2 separate regions of the Homo sapiens genome follow, and region 1 is linked to region 2. The links are contacts of gene promoters, found by promoter capture Hi-C in blood cells and fetal thymus (Javierre and others, 2016). All regions are on one chromosome and are shown on one strand. The core of a region is centred on a gene start or on the middle of the fragment in contact, and the rest is flanking DNA. Distances in the headings are between cores, read along the strand shown. Region 1 holds the start of BOD1 (biorientation of chromosomes in cell division 1). Region 2 holds the start of FBXW11 (F-box and WD repeat domain containing 11).

Region 1 (3,854 bases), core at 198-2,697, 1.6 Mb after region 2:
CGTATTTACCACCTGGTTTATTTACATGTCAGTTTTCTAACCTAGACTATAAGTTTTGAGGATGGGGTAGTGACTTATTCCTGTAATCGCACAGCTTGGCAACTAGAGGCCAATAAACGTTCAACGAATAAACAGACTACGTTTTTCCCTATCTTAAGGTCTAATTCTAAGCTCACAATCTTGCTGTGAGGTAAGCAAAATGTTTCCATGACAGGCTCTGGTAGGAGAAATCACTACCCTGCAGGAGTCCAGTGACAGGGTCTCCTAACCTACAACCACAGTCGTGGCTAGACAAGTTTTGAAAAGGAAGAAAATGAACATTCCAGCAACTACTGTATGTCTGATACTTAACACCCATTATTTCATTGAATCCAAACCACCCTGACGAGTAGGTAAAGTGAAATAGCGTTTTACTGGTGGGACTGACCAATGGCATTAGGATCTCAACTAGGCACCAAATCTCCTTTTATCAATGATGAAGTGCAAAATAAGGGTGCTGTTTCTACAATTTATCTTAATTCAACGCCGTACTAGTCTGCAAAACAATGAGCTAGAGAAAAGGAATAAACAGCTATAAAATGGTGATGACTGTGTGTTCAAATCATTGTGTTTAATGCCAGCTTCTCAGTGGTGAGTACGGAACAGGTGGAAATTCTAAAGCACGCTTGCTTATCTACTTGGTTTCGAAGTTTGTTATTAAGGGCCTCAGAGGAGTTCCATCTTGGGAATGATACGGTCTAGGCTCTAAAACCCACATTGAAACCCCAAGTTCGGAGAAGGGACTGGGTAAAATCACAACTAGTAGTAAATGTATCAGGCAGGAACCCACGTGTGCATCGCTCAGAAAGCTCTCCGTACTGCCCCAAGCGGTGTAAGACCTCACCGCTGAGATTTCTAAGCTATCTTTTGTTTTGCTCTCGGCTTTCGAAAATCAAAGCTGCCACCCGGCGGCCTCACGTGCAGCCCCGCTCCCCAACGCCCAGGCGGCCGCAGCTACCTTGGTGTCCACGTCGGCCAGGCAGTCCCGGCGGAAGCTGTCAAAAAGGCCCCGGCTCTTGAGCTGCTCCACGATGAGAGCGATGAGCTGCGGGTCGCCGGGAGGCAGCGAGGCCGGGTTGATGGGGCCACCGCCCCCGCTGGCCCCAGTAGCGCCAGTCGCTGCCCCGGCAGAGGCCTGGCTAGTTCCGCCGCCGCCCACCGCGCCAGTTCCCCCGCCGCCGCCGCCGTCCGCCATGGCTGCGCCCCGGGCCCACAAGGGAGAACGACTATAGCTTCTTCTCCAGGACAGAAGGCCTAGAACGTGTAGAGGTGGTGAAGGGGGCGGTGAAGGAGGAGGGCCCCAAGGCGGCAGCGGCGGAGGTGGCGATGGCGGCAGGGGCGGTGGTGGGGGCGGCGGCGGCGAAGGCCCCCTCTGATACAGCAGAGGTTGTGGTGGACGCGGCAGAAACGGCCTGCTCGATTCCAGGCGCACCCCAGATGGCGTCAACGTTGACCTTTGCATTGTGGGGCGGGAAGTTTTCTGTGGCCATCTCCGGCGTTCTTTATAGGCAGCGGCCTAGCCGAGAGAAACTACAACTCCCGGCAGGGTTCGTGCTTGCTCGTCGCGATTTCGCGGGGTAATATGGGAACTGTAGGCGCAGGCCTCGTGATCGCTGCAACCCGCCAGGCCTTCCCCGCCAGGCCTTCCCCGCCCACTCTCTGCTCACTTCCCATTCAATCAACACGTCCCAGCAGTGCCCGATTATAACAGTCATCTGTGGAGCTGATTAAAAGTATAGATTACCAGAATTATTTCTTAAAGATTTTTATCCAGTATTTACGGGTCGAGACCTAGCAATCTGTGCTTCAGCATGCACTCCCACGTCCTTCTTGAACAACATGTTCCGGGAAATTCCGGAAACAGTGGAACAGTCAAACTTCTATTGTTCAGAAATTTGTGAGTTTCCCTCCTTTTGGTTTTAATAGCAATGCATACTCATTTTAGAAAATTGGAAAATAACGGAAAAGTGTGAAGAAGAAAATAAAAGTTTTCCTTAAGTCTGTCTTATATGTGTGTGGATTTCCTCCCAAATATTAAATATTGTCAATCATAAGCCAATATTGAATAATTGAAAAGTGTCAGGCGTGATGCTATGCACTTTCCACGCACTTCTTCACGATAATTTAAAAAAGCAGATACATACTACTATTATTGCTATTTACAGACGTAGAAATGGAGGCAGAAGAAAGTTTGTTAACCTAATCACATACCTAGAGGTAGAAAAGTAGGATTTGAACCCAGGTTTTGAGGATCTAAATCTTGCATTTTAGCCTGAGGTATCCTGAGAGCTAGTTGGTATCCCACAATAGGTAAGGCTTTATATCCTGATTTTTTTAAGTAGCCACAATTCACCATTGGAATCCTATAGCTGCCACCATTATCCTCTCTTCCCTTCATCTTTTGCCTATTGTTAGCTCAGCTCCCCCTCCCAACCTCAGCAATTATGTCTGCTATTGTTGTTTCCTCATCTTACACAAGCAGCAGAGGGGATGTAAATAGCAAATTCTGCAATATCCTTGGCTCCTGCGAAGATGCAGAATTGGCAAAGATCCAGGATGTTCTCCACACCAATATTTAGTACTCAAGACAGTTTAATTTTTTTTTCTTTTTTTTTTTTGAGACAGAGTCTCACTCTATCGCCCAGGCTGGAGTGCAGTGGTGCAATCTTGGCTCACTGCAGCCTCCACCTCCTGGGTTCAAGCAATTCTCCTGCCTCAGCCTCCCGAGTAGCTGGGATTACAGGCGCATGCCACCATACCTGGCTAATTTTAGTATTTTTAGTAGAGATGGGGGTTTCACCATGTTGGCCAGGCTGGTCTTGAATTCCTGACCTCAAGTGATCTACCCGCCTCAGCCTCCCAAAGTGCTGGGATTACAGGTGTGAGCCACCACACCTGTCCAAGAGAGTTTAAATTAACCCTCAAAAGAAACATTCAGGTGTTGGATTATACTCATCCTCTAACACCAGCTCAATCATTCACAATGGGTCAGTTAATGACAAACATTCTCTCTTAATAGCTCACCATCCTTGAGATTACCTAATGTCTGTTCCTACTGGTTGACTCTACACTGATCACTCACCTTTAACCCCAGGAGAAGCCCAGTTCAGGCTGCCTCAGCCCCAGGTTCTTTCTTCTGCAAGCCCTTGATCACTCTGACTAGTCCCTTCTCCATTTTTGGCACCCCACATCTTACTCTCCTTCCTCAGGGAAAATTCTTCTGACCCCTAGATCCAATGAGATATTTCCTCCATGCTACAGAAACTCAAAGCCTCATTTTTTGTAGCAATTATTATAATTGGAAGTGAATGATTTACAGACAAATTGGCCACCTGAGTCCCCTGATAGGGTGTAATATTTAGAATGGGGACCACGACTTGTTCATCACTGTGTCTCCAGCTCTTAGCACGATAGTTCTTAGCTCAAAGAGAATGTATAAATTCCTGTCTGTTTCCTAAAGCTGTGGGATAGCATCACAGAGTGCGTGGGTAGGATTATGTGTAGCCATAATCTTCAGAAAAGAAGGAGCATTCTAGCAGGAGATGATGGATGAATCTGTCATGACTTAAATAGGTAAGTGATCCTGGAGATTGTCTGCACTTGGTTCACACTGTGACAATTTCACTATCTGTCATGGGGACCTGTGTCTTGGTTGCTGGGTCTCTGAACATTGACAAAAGGCTGCATTCTGTATCCATGACCTTCCCTCTGCAATCAAAGTAAATGATGAGGGATAAAAGGGGAAGGGGATGAGGAGTGAAGATGATCAAGCTGAAGGGAGGCTTATTATTTATCCAAACCGTGGAATAGGAGGC
Region 2 (3,993 bases), core at 648-3,147:
ATAGTTACCAAAATAACCCACTACAAAAGTTACAGAATACCAAACACTTGACTACAAGTATGATAAATTATGCTGAAAAGGAAAAATCACTCAGTATGTGACATCCCTTTGAAAACAACCCCACGTGCACACACACACACACACACACACACGCATGCAAAAATCAAAAACTATCAGTTTCTTTTTTTCCCTCCTAGTTTTCAAGAATGCTAGAGAAGTCCAGTTCTGTGAATTATGCAAAGGACAGCAAACATTAAGCTGCCTCCATATTTATGCTACTGTACTTCCATTTTTAAAACAAGCATCTCAACTCCCCAGACACCATCATCCACAGAAACCATGCAGCTATCCAACAGACTTTCAGTGTCACCATTTATTATTTATAGCGTTAAATGGGGGAAGTGGCTCTGATGTCACCAACCCTACCCAGTGGAATCACTGACTCAATAAACATTTTCACACTGAAGAAAATCTGGCTAGGAAAACATTTTGCTGGGTTAAGTAGATTCTTCCACCTCTCCTCTCAACCCTGGGGAAGAAGTTGTTACCGTGTTAGGAAAGATACAAAGAAACTGTCAAGGCTTCCATAGGAAGAAATCCTGGACATGTCCATTTGCTGATGCAGACTTCCTCTTCCCAGCTCTCCAGAGCCCAATTTGATTTCCCTCATGTTCACGTTGGCAGGTAATATCTGCCATATTTTATTTCTTCCACCAAATCATCCATCAATTAGCAAATTCTTCACTTCTAGCCACTCTCTCACTGTCCTGTTCCTAAAAACCCCTTCTGGTTTCAAATCCTAAAGCTTCGGAGGAGGGTGGAGGGTGTCCACGGACCGGGAGTCTGGCCTGGCTGCCAGTGGTTTCTAACAGAAGAGTGGTCGCTTCCCCCGGGGGCCAAGGATTCCCCTCTTTTTTTTTTCTTTCTGAGAAGAAAGACCTCGCGGCAGTGATGAGGATGGCTCCCTCCCCAGTCATCTCCAATTTCCCAAAGCAGCTCTGGAAAACGTGAAGTTGCGCCTTCTCTTTCCTGGAGGATGGAATCCAGAGTACCTGGGCCCTTGCTATGCAAACATCCCTCTCCGCCGGGTAGGAAACCCTTTGTCCGAGAAGCCGGACACCACAAGGGCCCGGGAAAGAGGCCTCCTTATCCGCCACAGCCTCAAACCCGAAAGCTCCCTGCCCCCCCAGCTCTGTAGGGCCTATCCTGGCATCCACACAGACCTAGGCTGGGGAGTGGGTGCTGAGACCTCTCCTAGGACGCGGAGGCCCAGGCGGCCCCAACCCATCTCCGTACTCCTTCCCACCATCTCACTCGGCCTGAGTGGGGCTTGCAAGCGCGGTGCGGGCCTGGGCCGAAACAGAGGAAAGAAAAAAAAATCCCTTTCTAAAAGAAGGAGAATGGGGTGCTAGAGCGAGTGCGACCTAAGTCTACAGCATAAACGAGCGAGGGTCGTCCGAGAGCTGGGACCGGAGACGGGACCAGGGGGAGGGGGAGAAGCGAGGGGCATGGAGGGGGCCGGGCCAGGACCGGCCGGAGATGTCGAGGGATCAGAGGAGCCCGCGCCAGGTCCGAGGCCAGGGAAGGCTGGGGGCCCGGGTCTGGGTCGAGGCGTCTGGGAAGGGCCAGAGCCGGCCTCGCACCGGACGTTGAGGTGGGCAGGCCCGCCCGGGGCCGGACGGACGGAAGCACAGACGGTCCAGCGGGCCGCACTCACCATGAGCTCGATGGTCTTGTCCTCAATCACCGAGTCGGGCTCCATGGCGGCCCCGGCGGCCCCGCCTCGCTCTCCCCGCGCAGCAGCGAACGGCCCGGGCGGAGGAGGCGACGGCGGAGGCGGCAGAGGCGGAGGCGGCTATCGCACCCACTCTAGCTGCCAGCCCGCCCGGGCCGCCGGCAGCTCCGCCCTCCCCCTCGGCGAACGCAGTACGCAGATCGGGGACTACACCTCCCAGCAGGCGCCGCGGCCCGCAGAGCGTTGTGGGACCGAGCCTCTGACACCAGGTTGCTGGCTCTTGGCAGCCCGAAGCTGAACTCCGAGCTGAGAGTAGCACTGGACGGTGGGCGTAGGACGTGCAGACCTGAAGAGTTAAGAGCTTGCTCATGGCAGGGCCTCGAGAGCGCCACGACTACGTGTCCCAGAAAGCCGTGCGCCCGGGTTGTCCTTCCGGCTAGCTTCTCTTGACTTCCTGGCAGCCCAAGGCTGCCCAGACCGGGACGGAAACTCCGAGGCAACTCCTCACTTGTCGGAGGTCCTGCGTATGCGACCCATTTCCGCACATGCGCGGTCCATGCCGCAGTGCTCCCTAGACGCCTAGGTAGCTGCGCGGCCCGTCCGGCAGTGTCTGATGGTAGGGGCAGATGGTGGAGACAGGTGGGTTCTAGGTGCGTTAGGAAGGTGTATAGACCTGGGGCTCAGGTGTGGGAAGGGGCCAGCGAGTGAGAGAAGCTCGGCCTGGGGAAGAGGCTCTGAGAGGATGGGCATCCCAGGAGTGAGAGTTTCGAGATTTCTTCGGGAAAGACGGGGTTTTGGGAAATGTGCTGTGGTGCTGTCTGTATGTCACACGATCTGCGAGGAGCTGCGAGATTAAAGGGGACGTGCGTATATCGAGCCCCTCATTCATTCGTTCAGAAAATGGTTATTTTTTAAGCATCCAGCTTCCGCTGCGTACCGTTCTAGGCGCTGAGAATCAGCTCTGAACATGACAGACAAGGCTCCTGTTCTCATGGAGCTTAATTCTGGTGGAGGGACGACAGACACTAACCAAAAGAGTGGCTAAGAAGGAACACACAAGCGGAGACTCCTTCTAGTGAACTCAGCCTCCAACTCTGTGTAACTTAGGTCTGTCCGTGCCCTCTAACCAAATCCCACCAGGAAGACACGGATCGTTGAACAAGCTGGGTTTATTACTAGTTGCAGTGACTGAGAACACACATTGAGGAACGATAGGGCCTCTCGGTAAGAGTTGTTAGTGATTTGGGAGAGGGTTTAAGGAAGTGAGAGCTTCACTGGATTAGATACTGTCAGGAAGAGAGGGTCGTTCCATGATTGAGCATCTCAGTTCATCTTATCTAGAGGAAGGGAATTCTAGATTGAGGCTAAAGCTGTGCAGATAAAGAAACAGCAGCCTGGCCGGGCGCAGTGGCTCACGCCTGTAATCCCAGCACTTTGGTAAACCGAGGCAGGCGAATTGCTTGAGCGCAGGAGTTCCAGACCAGCCTGGGCAACATGGCGAAACTCTTCTCTACAAAAAATACAAAAATGAACCGGGCCTGGTGGTGCGCGCCTGTCATCTCAGTTACTTGGGAGGCAGAGGTGGGACGATCGCTTGAGCCCAGGAAGTGGAGGTTTCAGTGAATGGAGATCGCACCACTCCACTGTACCCTGAGTGATAGAGCCAGACCTTGTCTCAAAAACGAAAAAAAAAAAAAAAAGTGCAGCAGCAGCTCCCTCATATTAGCCAAGTGGGGATGTTGAGTCATTTTTTGTGGTTTGGACAATCATCAGGTTTTATCTTTTTATCGTGTTTAGACCTGATTATAGAGTGGTCTTGTATTTGTCTGGATCTATCATGGTCACAGAATGACCTCGTCTGATGTTGATGTTCTTTGGAATTGTTTTTGTTCTACAGGAAAACACAAAGCCTAGCTATAAGGGCCAGGCTGTGGTCTAGTAACATCATGGCATGGCTGATTGTACCAGGCCAGCTTCCAGATATCAGAGGCTGCTTTTCACTTTCTCAAAGTGTTTTTGCATTCTCTGCACCTATAAAGTCAAAGAGGCTGGATGACCTAGAAATCTTTCCATTACCAAGGACCAAGTTACAGTAATTTGCATGCATTCAGGACACAGTATAAGTTCCCTGCAGGTAGACTTTGAAGTTTCATAGTCCTTACCTGGTGCTTTTCACCAAGGGAATTGAAAGAAAAGCAATAGGAAGAGCACAGAATTGGAAAGTTCTTACCACTGTCATGCTATCTGAATTTCACCAG

The links. Contacts are between HindIII fragments. The CHiCAGO score rates a contact against its expected background, and 5 or more counts as called.
Region 1: a contact is called between the fragment with the promoter of BOD1 here and the fragment with the promoter of FBXW11 in region 2, in 1 of 17 cell types (neutrophils). The highest score is 6.5, in neutrophils.

Annotation. Positions count from the first base shown.
Region 1 is chr5:173,615,203-173,619,056 of GRCh38, forward strand. It overlaps BOD1 (biorientation of chromosomes in cell division 1), which reads right to left and starts at 1,448. Exons shown (of 4, transcript NM_138369.3): 1 at 998-1,448. The coding sequence starts at 1,234. RefSeq lists silencers at 1,255-1,304, 1,315-1,384 and enhancers at 1,365-1,624, 1,645-1,724. The HindIII fragment of the contact is 8,451 bases long and covers 1-3,854 here.
Region 2 is chr5:172,004,741-172,008,733 of GRCh38, forward strand. It overlaps FBXW11 (F-box and WD repeat domain containing 11), which reads right to left and starts at 1,898. Exons shown (of 14, transcript NM_001378974.1): 1 at 1,718-1,898. The coding sequence starts at 1,762. RefSeq lists enhancers at 1,063-1,182, 1,782-2,409, 1,953-2,222, 3,665-3,993 and silencers at 1,523-1,632, 1,643-1,922. The HindIII fragment of the contact is 14,963 bases long and covers 804-3,993 here.